3 separate regions of the Homo sapiens genome follow, and regions 1 and 3 are each linked to region 2. The links are contacts of gene promoters, found by promoter capture Hi-C in blood cells and fetal thymus (Javierre and others, 2016). All regions are on one chromosome and are shown on one strand. Each heading gives the region's core, a stretch centred on a gene start or on the middle of the fragment in contact. The rest is flanking DNA. Distances are from core to core; before and after follow the strand shown. Region 1 overlaps TMEM123 (transmembrane protein 123). Region 2 holds the start of MMP8 (matrix metallopeptidase 8). Region 3 overlaps TMEM123 (transmembrane protein 123).

What was found. Contacts are between HindIII fragments. The CHiCAGO score rates a contact against its expected background, and 5 or more counts as called.
Region 1: a fragment that was not itself captured here is called in contact with the fragment with the promoter of MMP8 in region 2 in 3 of 17 cell types (M0 macrophages, M1 macrophages and monocytes); the score reaches 6.5 in M0 macrophages.
Region 3: a contact is called between a fragment that was not itself captured here and the fragment with the promoter of MMP8 in region 2, in 2 of 17 cell types (M1 macrophages and M0 macrophages). The highest score is 6.4, in M1 macrophages.

Annotation. Positions count from the first base shown.
Region 1 is chr11:102,401,097-102,403,796 of GRCh38, forward strand. It overlaps TMEM123 (transmembrane protein 123), which reads right to left. Exons shown (of 5, transcript NM_052932.3): 3 at 820-1,110; 4 at 443-596. Among named protein-coding and RNA genes, the nearest start is that of TMEM123, 50 kb to the right of the region's middle. The HindIII fragment of the contact is 2,140 bases long and covers 276-2,415 here.
Region 2 is chr11:102,723,701-102,726,400 of GRCh38, forward strand. MMP8 (matrix metallopeptidase 8) reads right to left here and starts at 1,254. Exons shown (of 10, transcript NM_002424.3): 1 at 1,054-1,254. The coding sequence starts at 1,155. RefSeq lists an enhancer at 461-1,660. The HindIII fragment of the contact is 5,644 bases long and covers 1-2,700 here.
Region 3 is chr11:102,427,137-102,429,836 of GRCh38, forward strand. All of the region lies in intron 2 of TMEM123 (transmembrane protein 123), which reads right to left. Among named protein-coding and RNA genes, the nearest start is that of TMEM123, 24 kb to the right of the region's middle. RefSeq lists a silencer at 1,822-1,999 and an enhancer at 2,624-2,683. The HindIII fragment of the contact is 3,918 bases long and covers 1-2,700 here.

The sequences.
Region 1 (2,700 bases), core at 96-2,595, 320 kb before region 2:
GGGATAATGAGGCTGTCAGAGGAATTTTTTTTGTCTTTGTCGTGGAAAACAAAAGCCATGGTTTTACCAAGGATGCTATTTAGTACCACAACAGACACAGACATACTAAGTCAAAAGCCTGCTGGGAACTGGTATTTCTTACGATTATTGGTATGAGTAAGTGAAAATTTCAGGGTAGGTTAACTTTGGTCTCCTGTAAAGTGTGTTTGACACTAGTAAAATACATTTTTTTAAGTATATACATCCATTTTCATTTGCAAATAATTATAATCACAAGCTTGTACATAAACAATTTACTTTGGGCCAAAAGGGTTAATGGGAATATAACTCATAAATCTATCAATTATTCATCCCTGAGATGAGCACTGGCTTGATATTCTATCATAATTAAAGATGTGCACCAACAATTTTTTTTAAAAAGTCCTGGCCATTCAAAACTTACATGGTTCGATACCGAATGCCTCTTCTTGAGTAATACATTTTGCATCCAATGTAAAGAATAGATAAAACTCCCAGCGTTAATACAATACCACCAACAAAGCTCCCAGTATCAAATTTTGATCCTTTCTTTGCTTCAGAATGCATAGTTGTTGTGACTAGAACAAAAGAAAACAAAAAAGGGCTTTAGCGTTATTTTTTTTTTTTTAACATTGTAATTAAAGCTCTCTGATTTTCTGTGTTAAGAACATTTAATTAGGAATTAAGGGAAATCTAGGCATATAAAGTTTCTATATTATTTTTGCCAGACAGAATAATGACTTAAATGTGGCATTTAACTACTTGCAGCATAGGAAAAAAAAGGTCAGCTTTAATACATACTTGTTACTGATGAAGCAGCAGATGTCACTGAACTATTGTGGGTTACGGTCATTGTGGATGTTGATATCTGAGATGTGTTCTGTGAAACACTTGTTGTTTTGGGTGTAGACTTTAAGGTGGTAGAAGTCATATTTGTTGAGACCATCCCTGGTGTTGTTGTATTAGATGCCGCTGTAGGTTTCATGGTGGTGACCGTTGTATTACTGGAGTCTGAGGCAACTGAAGTTGGTGGTTTCACAGTACTGTTGGAAGTTTCATTTGTATGGTCAGAAGGCACATGTTGGAGAGTCTCTGCAATAATATCAAGAAACATTAAAACCAGAGCTATGATTTAGGGAATAAGATCCCATTTCACTGAGACTTTCATGGTCACAGACAAAGCAAGAGATCTTACAAATACAGCAGCATTTAACATACTTAGCCCATTAATACTTTGCACTATACTGCAATAAAATGTCTCAAACTAGTAAAAGACTCAACAGAAACCAAGTCTAAATTTATATAAAGTTAGAAATTTTGGGGAAGATATGAAGAAAAAAAAAAACAACCCAGAAGACAGAGTTCCCTCAGTGCAGGGACATGTCTTAATCATCTCTGTCTGAACATCTCAACGTATTTCATATCACATAATAGGCTTTCAACAAATATCTGTTGAATGGATGGATAAACTAATGAATATAAAAATGGTTTTTAAATTTCCAGTTCTCTGCTATACCTTCCAAGGGGCTTTGAGGACAATAAATCAGTAGCTGCATGTTTCTAACCCTCCTGGTAGAATGGGAAGTCCAAGTGAGTTATTTTTTGTAAAAGTAAAGCCAACTTCCCACTATGCATTAGGAAGTGAGATACCATCACAGAATGTGGCTAGCTGTCATACTGGTAATAATAATTTCCCATAGTTGGAAGGACAGTTCTAAAACTATCTGTGAAAGTTTTACAAGTCCAAAAGCCAATTTTGTATGAAAAGAAAAATTAGTGATTTAAAATACACAACTCAAACAATACCTTTGCTCATACCTGCAACTGAGTTTTTCTTTTTTGGGGGGTATAATGTAAACAGAAACATATAGGTACAGATCTTGTTAATGCTCCTTAACTTCTTTTTTGTTTTTTGAGATGGAGTTTCACTCTGTCACCCAGGCTGAAGTGCAGTGTCAAGATCTCGGCTCAATGCAACCTCCGCCTCCTGGGTCCAAGTGATTCTCCTGCCTTGACCTCCTGAGTAGCTGGGATTACAGGTGCCTGCTACCATGCTGGCTAATTTTTGTATTTTTAGTAGAGACAAGGTTTTACCATGTTGGCCAGGCTGGTCTTGAACTCCTGACTTCAAGTGATCTGCTCGCCTCAGCTTCCCCAAGTGCTGGGATCACAGGCATGAGCCACCGTGCCCGGCCAATACTCCTTAAAATAAACTTCGATTACTTTTGTTTTCATCCAGCAAAGGTTTCCTTCTTTTTGCATAAAATATGGCCTATAACCAGAAGCAAACCTTTCTGTGTTAATTTTATTTCATACTGCATCTTCTTTTTAACACGACAATTTAACTAACGTTTACAACTATAGGTACCTATTAGGATACAATGTCTAGGGAATGAAAGCTTTTAATATGTCTTTGTCCATTTAATATGATGTAATATATTTCTGTATTCATTTCCTGTCTCATAGTTTATTTTCAGGTTTTTTGGTTTCCTATGTTGCCTACTGCTATGGTTTGGATTTGGTTTGTTTGTCCCTATCAAAACTCATATTGAAATTTGATCTCCAATGTGGCGGTCTTGGGAGGTGGGGCCTAGTGGGAGTTGTCTGGATCATGGGGGCAGATCCCTCATAAATGGCTTGATGCCCTTCACGTGGTAGTGAGTGAGTTCTCATTCTGGCAAA
Region 2 (2,700 bases), core at 4-2,503:
TCACACAAGAGTGTCATTAATCTTTCTTAATGACCTAAGTACTTCTTAAAGGACCCACTGTCACATGGGCTACTAAATCTTTAACACATAAATTCAAGGGACACACTCTAACCACAGCAGTAGGTGACACTGACCAGATCACACGCTTTGGAATCAGACAGGCCTGGGTTCAAATCTTAACTCTGCCATGAATTAACTGTGAGCACTTGGCCACATTATTTATCTGATTTAAGATATTTTTGTCTCTGAAATGAAAATAATAATGCTCCAATAAGGTTCTTGTGAGGATTAAATGAGATATTTGTGAAATGTGTAGCAGTTGCCTTGCATAGAATAAGCACTCAATGGACTTTACATTAACCCGGGGGTTACAATTAAGAGATAACCTCTTAATAATAATAATGCTTTCTCCAAACTATAATGCTAAGAAAACTGTGCATGAGAGATTTGTGACAGAATTCCCTTGTGTTTCTTAAAAATTTGGGTTCACTTTCAGACTGTGAAACAATGGAAAAAAACTATTGGTTCTGCTTTTATAATGCTTCCAAGAGTTTATAAACAGTCCACAATCTGATGCTGGGAAATATGATTTTACTGTGTACTGATTTCTAGTTCATTGTAATCTACCATCCTCACATTATTTTCTATATCTGGAATTTTTGGCGGCAAAGAAAATGCCTGTATGGAAGCACCAGACATATAGTAACTTGATTGCAGATATCCTGGAAGGAAAAACCTTAGGTAAATGAGAAAGAAAATGATACCATTTTATAAATAAAACCATTTCTTCTACAAAAGTTTCCCAACTAGGGGTAACTCTACAGCAGTATTTTCCCAGCCTTTAAAGAATTCAGCTTGTTTTCATGTCCGGCTTTTAAAAGGCCTAGTCCTTACCAGCTTGGAACCCTCCAAATCACTAAAAGGAGATGTTCAATCTCAAACTAATCACCCAAATAATTTCTTTCAGGCTGTTTTAATTAACAAGAGAAAACAACCCACACTATTTCCTAATAATCAGCAAATCAAACATCACCTAACTGATAGTTCATTTACCTGAACAGTTTTTGTATTTTTCTCTTTAGAAGATACAGGAAAGGCCTTGGAAATCTGCACATGGAGTAAGAGCAGAAATGGAAGCGTCTTCAGGGAGAACATGATCTTCTCTTCAAACTCTACCCCTCCTGGCTTTCTTTCTGTCCCTCTGGGTAGGGCCCTTCCCTGGCGAGCACCCTGACGTTCACAGCATCATGTGTCACTCACAGCTCTCTTGCAGTCCTCTTTAAAGCCATGTCTTAAACAATTGCTGCATCAGGAATATGAAGCAACATAGGTTAATTACACTCTGACAGTTTTGCAATTTTATAATGTGATTTAGTACCCCCAAATGGGGGAGTCTTTCAACAGTCTTTCAAAACTCCAACTTTCTACTCTTTGCTTTTGGATGTTTTAGTTATTTCCTTTTACAAAATTGGTTGAGGAAAAGGAACAAGGGACTAATCCTGAAGTTATGTGGATACATTTTTTGACTATGTAAGATGTTGAGGTTGAATTAACTTATGCAGGGGAATATTTTGAGGTTTGTGGTAGATATCTTGGGACCAAGGAGCCCAACTAGAGAATCTCTGTACTTACCCTCCCTCATTGTATGTGGAGAGAATGAGTGACTGTGTTATTACAAAGCAGGCTTTGTATGGGGCCTAGAGCTGCTTCTGGAGGATGTGGTTTGGTATCAACATATTAGAAAATCCCTAGTCTATAAGTTAGACTTTCCATGGAAAAGATAAAGAGAACAATACTGATGATGATAATAATGAACATTTGCTAAAAAATTATGATTGCCCAGACATTTGTACTGTGTTCCACATATTACCCCAATCCATCTTCACATAGCCTTGGGAGGGAGATGCTATTACTATCTCCATTTTACAGATGAAATCAAATCCAGAGACATTTAGATGACCTGTTTAAGTCACATGTTTCATTTGTGGAGGGGCCAGGATTCAACCCCAGAGGGTATGTTTAGAGAGACTGAGCTGGGAGCTACTATAAGCTCTGCATGGTAGTCTCCCACTTGAGTCTCTGGCTGGGCCATAGTGGAGCAGCAGCTCTAGGCCTTCAACAGCTGGATACTTTGGCTTATATTCACAGGCAGAAGACAAGGGAGAGGGAGAATGAGATGTTGTACATCTTCAAGGAGTAAGACACTGAGAGATTTCCAGACAATATGGCTACATAGGAGACTGTTTGTCAGAGGCCCCTGGGCATGCTTTTCAAATCATGTAACCTGGTCCCACTTATTCTGAGTCCACATGCATGTAGTTTGTTATCATACACAGTCTTTGTGAATACTCATTTACATATATGCATACATATTTGGTAAAGGCAGGTATTCTTGTGTATAAATGCATGTGTCTACATGTATGATACATAGCATGTATTAATATGTAAAGAGTGTATTTGAGATGCTATGATAAGGAGTTCTGATCTTTCCTGAGGTCACTTAGGAACTTTGAAAATGATCCAAAGAAAGGTGTCTTGGGTTAGAACATATCTGGACAGCAGATTAATGTTAATGATGTATATTCCTACATTCATTCAGTAAACATTTCCTGTCATCTACTACATGCCACATGCTGTGATGGGTGCTAGAGTATTGGAGATAAATTAATAGAGGTTTGGATAAAATGCTGTGGGTGTTTG
Region 3 (2,700 bases), core at 165-2,664, 300 kb before region 2:
ATCCTCCATATCTAGCTAGCTCACTGACAAACATTGTTGTTCAAACACAGTTGGCTTTTGTTTAGTTTCTTAAACAATACATGCCTTTTAATATCAAATGGCACCATGCAATCCTACCACACTTACATGAACTCGATCAGTCTTCAGTCTTAACTTGTTCCTTGAGCTTTTTGTTGACTGAATTTCACAAAAGAGGACCCAGGTCTCTGCTGAAGTAGCACATGCCCAAGGACTATGAGGAACAAGGGGAGAAGGCAGAAGTGGAAGAGAAGGCAGAAGTGGGAGAGAAGAAATAGGGAGGGTATAAATTCTTTTTTTTTTTTTTTTTTGGAGACAGAGTCTCACTCTGTCGCCCAGGCTGGAGTGCAGTGGCACAATCTCAGCTCACTGCAACAGGGAGGCTATAAATTCTACGGAAATGGCTGGGTGCGGTGGCTGATGTCTGTAATCCCAGCACTTCGGGAGGCTGAGGCAGGTGGATCACGAGGTCAGCATTTCGAGACCAGCCTGGCCAATACGGTGAAACCCTGTCTCTACTAAAAAACACACAAATTAGCCAGGCGTGGTGGTACACACCTGTAGTCCCAGCTACTAGGGAGGCTGAGGCAGGAGAATCACTGGAACCCGGGAGGCAGAGGTTGCAGTGAGCCGAGATCGCGCCACTGCACTCCAGCCTGGGCAACAGAGCAAGACTCTGTTTCAATTAAAAAAAAAAAAATTCTACAGAAATAGAATGAAAATGTAAACATTCTACCAGTTCATTTAGGAAGACAAAGAATATTTACTCTGAGATTCAGAAAAGAATATACATATCTTATAAAAATTATCACAATAATCTTCTGGCAAGACACTCTTCCTCAATGAGGATATAAACTTGCTGGAAGGAAAAATGAGATGCTGATAAAAAAAAGTGATTTAACCAGGCCATGCATGGAGTCTAGAGAGGTCTGAATTGTCCCTTCCTCACCCTTCCTGGGAGTGTGAGTCTATCGTTATTTACTATTAGCTAAGAAGAAAAAAACAAGAGTACATTAATTTAAAAGGTTTTTCTTAGTTTAGGATGTTGATATTTCAGATCTAACTTCAATTTTTTATCCTGAATATATTATTACGTTACTACTGCAATATAATCTTAACCTATATTCTTCACAATTTAAAAAAAGTCATTTTATTTTATTTTTTTGAGATGGAGTCTCACTCTGTCACCCAGGCTGGAGTACAGTGGCACAATCTCAGCTCACTGCAACCTCCACCTCCAGGGTTTAAGCAATTCTCCTGCCTCAGCCTCCCAAGTAGCTGGGATTACAGGTGCCTGCCACCACACCCAGCTTTTTTTTTTTTTTATTTTTTAGTAGAGACGGGGTTTTGCCATGTTGGCCAGGCTGCTCTCGAACTCCTGACCCCAGGTGATCCACCCAGCTTGGCCTCGCAAAGTGCTGGGATTACAGGTGTAAGCCAGTGTGCCCGGCCCCCCCAAAAAAAAAAAGTCATTTTAAAGAAGTGTTTTTTCCCCTAGATTACTTTATCCCATATCACAAATTAAATGGCCATCTGGACAATTACTTTATAAAGCTAACTGAAAAAGATATTCTGAGATCCTCAGGAAATGATCCATCTCCAATTTAAGTGGTACATTTTTGCTGCAGCTCATCAAGAATAGGCTATAACTCTGACAAGAGCAGATGTTTCTGAAGAGAAAGGAGACTAGTAACTACTGGCCACCAAGTCTGGCCAGGGAAAATCATTACCACTGACTGTGGCTATGTGGCCAGTAGAATGAACATCTGTTCTTTTTTCCCTGCCCAGCTCCTGTTCCACTCTTCCTTCAGGCAAACACCCTTCGCTCACCCCCTGGGGTCTGGAGGGACTACGAGTGGGTAGGCACGAGATTCAAACCAGGTCAATCAGCCTCTCGCAGGAGTCTGAAATGTGAGTAGAATACACCAGGATGGACAACAGTTAACACAGTCATTTTGATGGCAGCCTCCTCAGGAGATTTGTTAATTCCTGTCCCTGAAATCCCTAGCCACACTAGATCTAGTTCAGTTTTCTTCTTTAGGTTTTGTGAATGTTGGACAGCAGGTGTCCAACAAGTCCTTGTTTATCTAAGTTAGTTATAGAAAATTTCTACTGCTTGCAACCAAATGATTTTAACAATATGAAATTTAAATCTGGGATGATGTCTACTTTCTTCCTGCTCTTTTCTCTTCTTCATAATCACGCTTACGGTTCCTCTTCAGTTTTTTTCCTCCTTTACAACAGAATGCACTTTTCAACTCATGTCAGCAAAAACATTACATGAGACTACTGAAAGGCAAGTTTTGGCGTACAAAATGAAGTTTCTAAAATGAGACTTTCCTCTTTGAGAAGGTCTTTGGCACTCTGCTAACCTTTGACTCTTGCCTTGAGAAAACATTTCCTTACAATTAACAAACATAAAAGCATGAATGCCTGTGTGTGTGCTGCAATGTGACTCTACTTACACCAAACCAACAAGACTATTTTCAGTGCAAAAGTAAACTCCTGACAATCATAGCATTCTACCAAGCAAATGTTTGACATCTTATACATAGCATCTTGTACTGTAAACTATTATAGGCTTCAGATGTAGCCAGACTCACTGCAATCAAATCCAAACTCCCTGAGGGACTTCAGCAACACTGCTCCACCATCACTAAAGCCTCACAACACCGCTTTCCT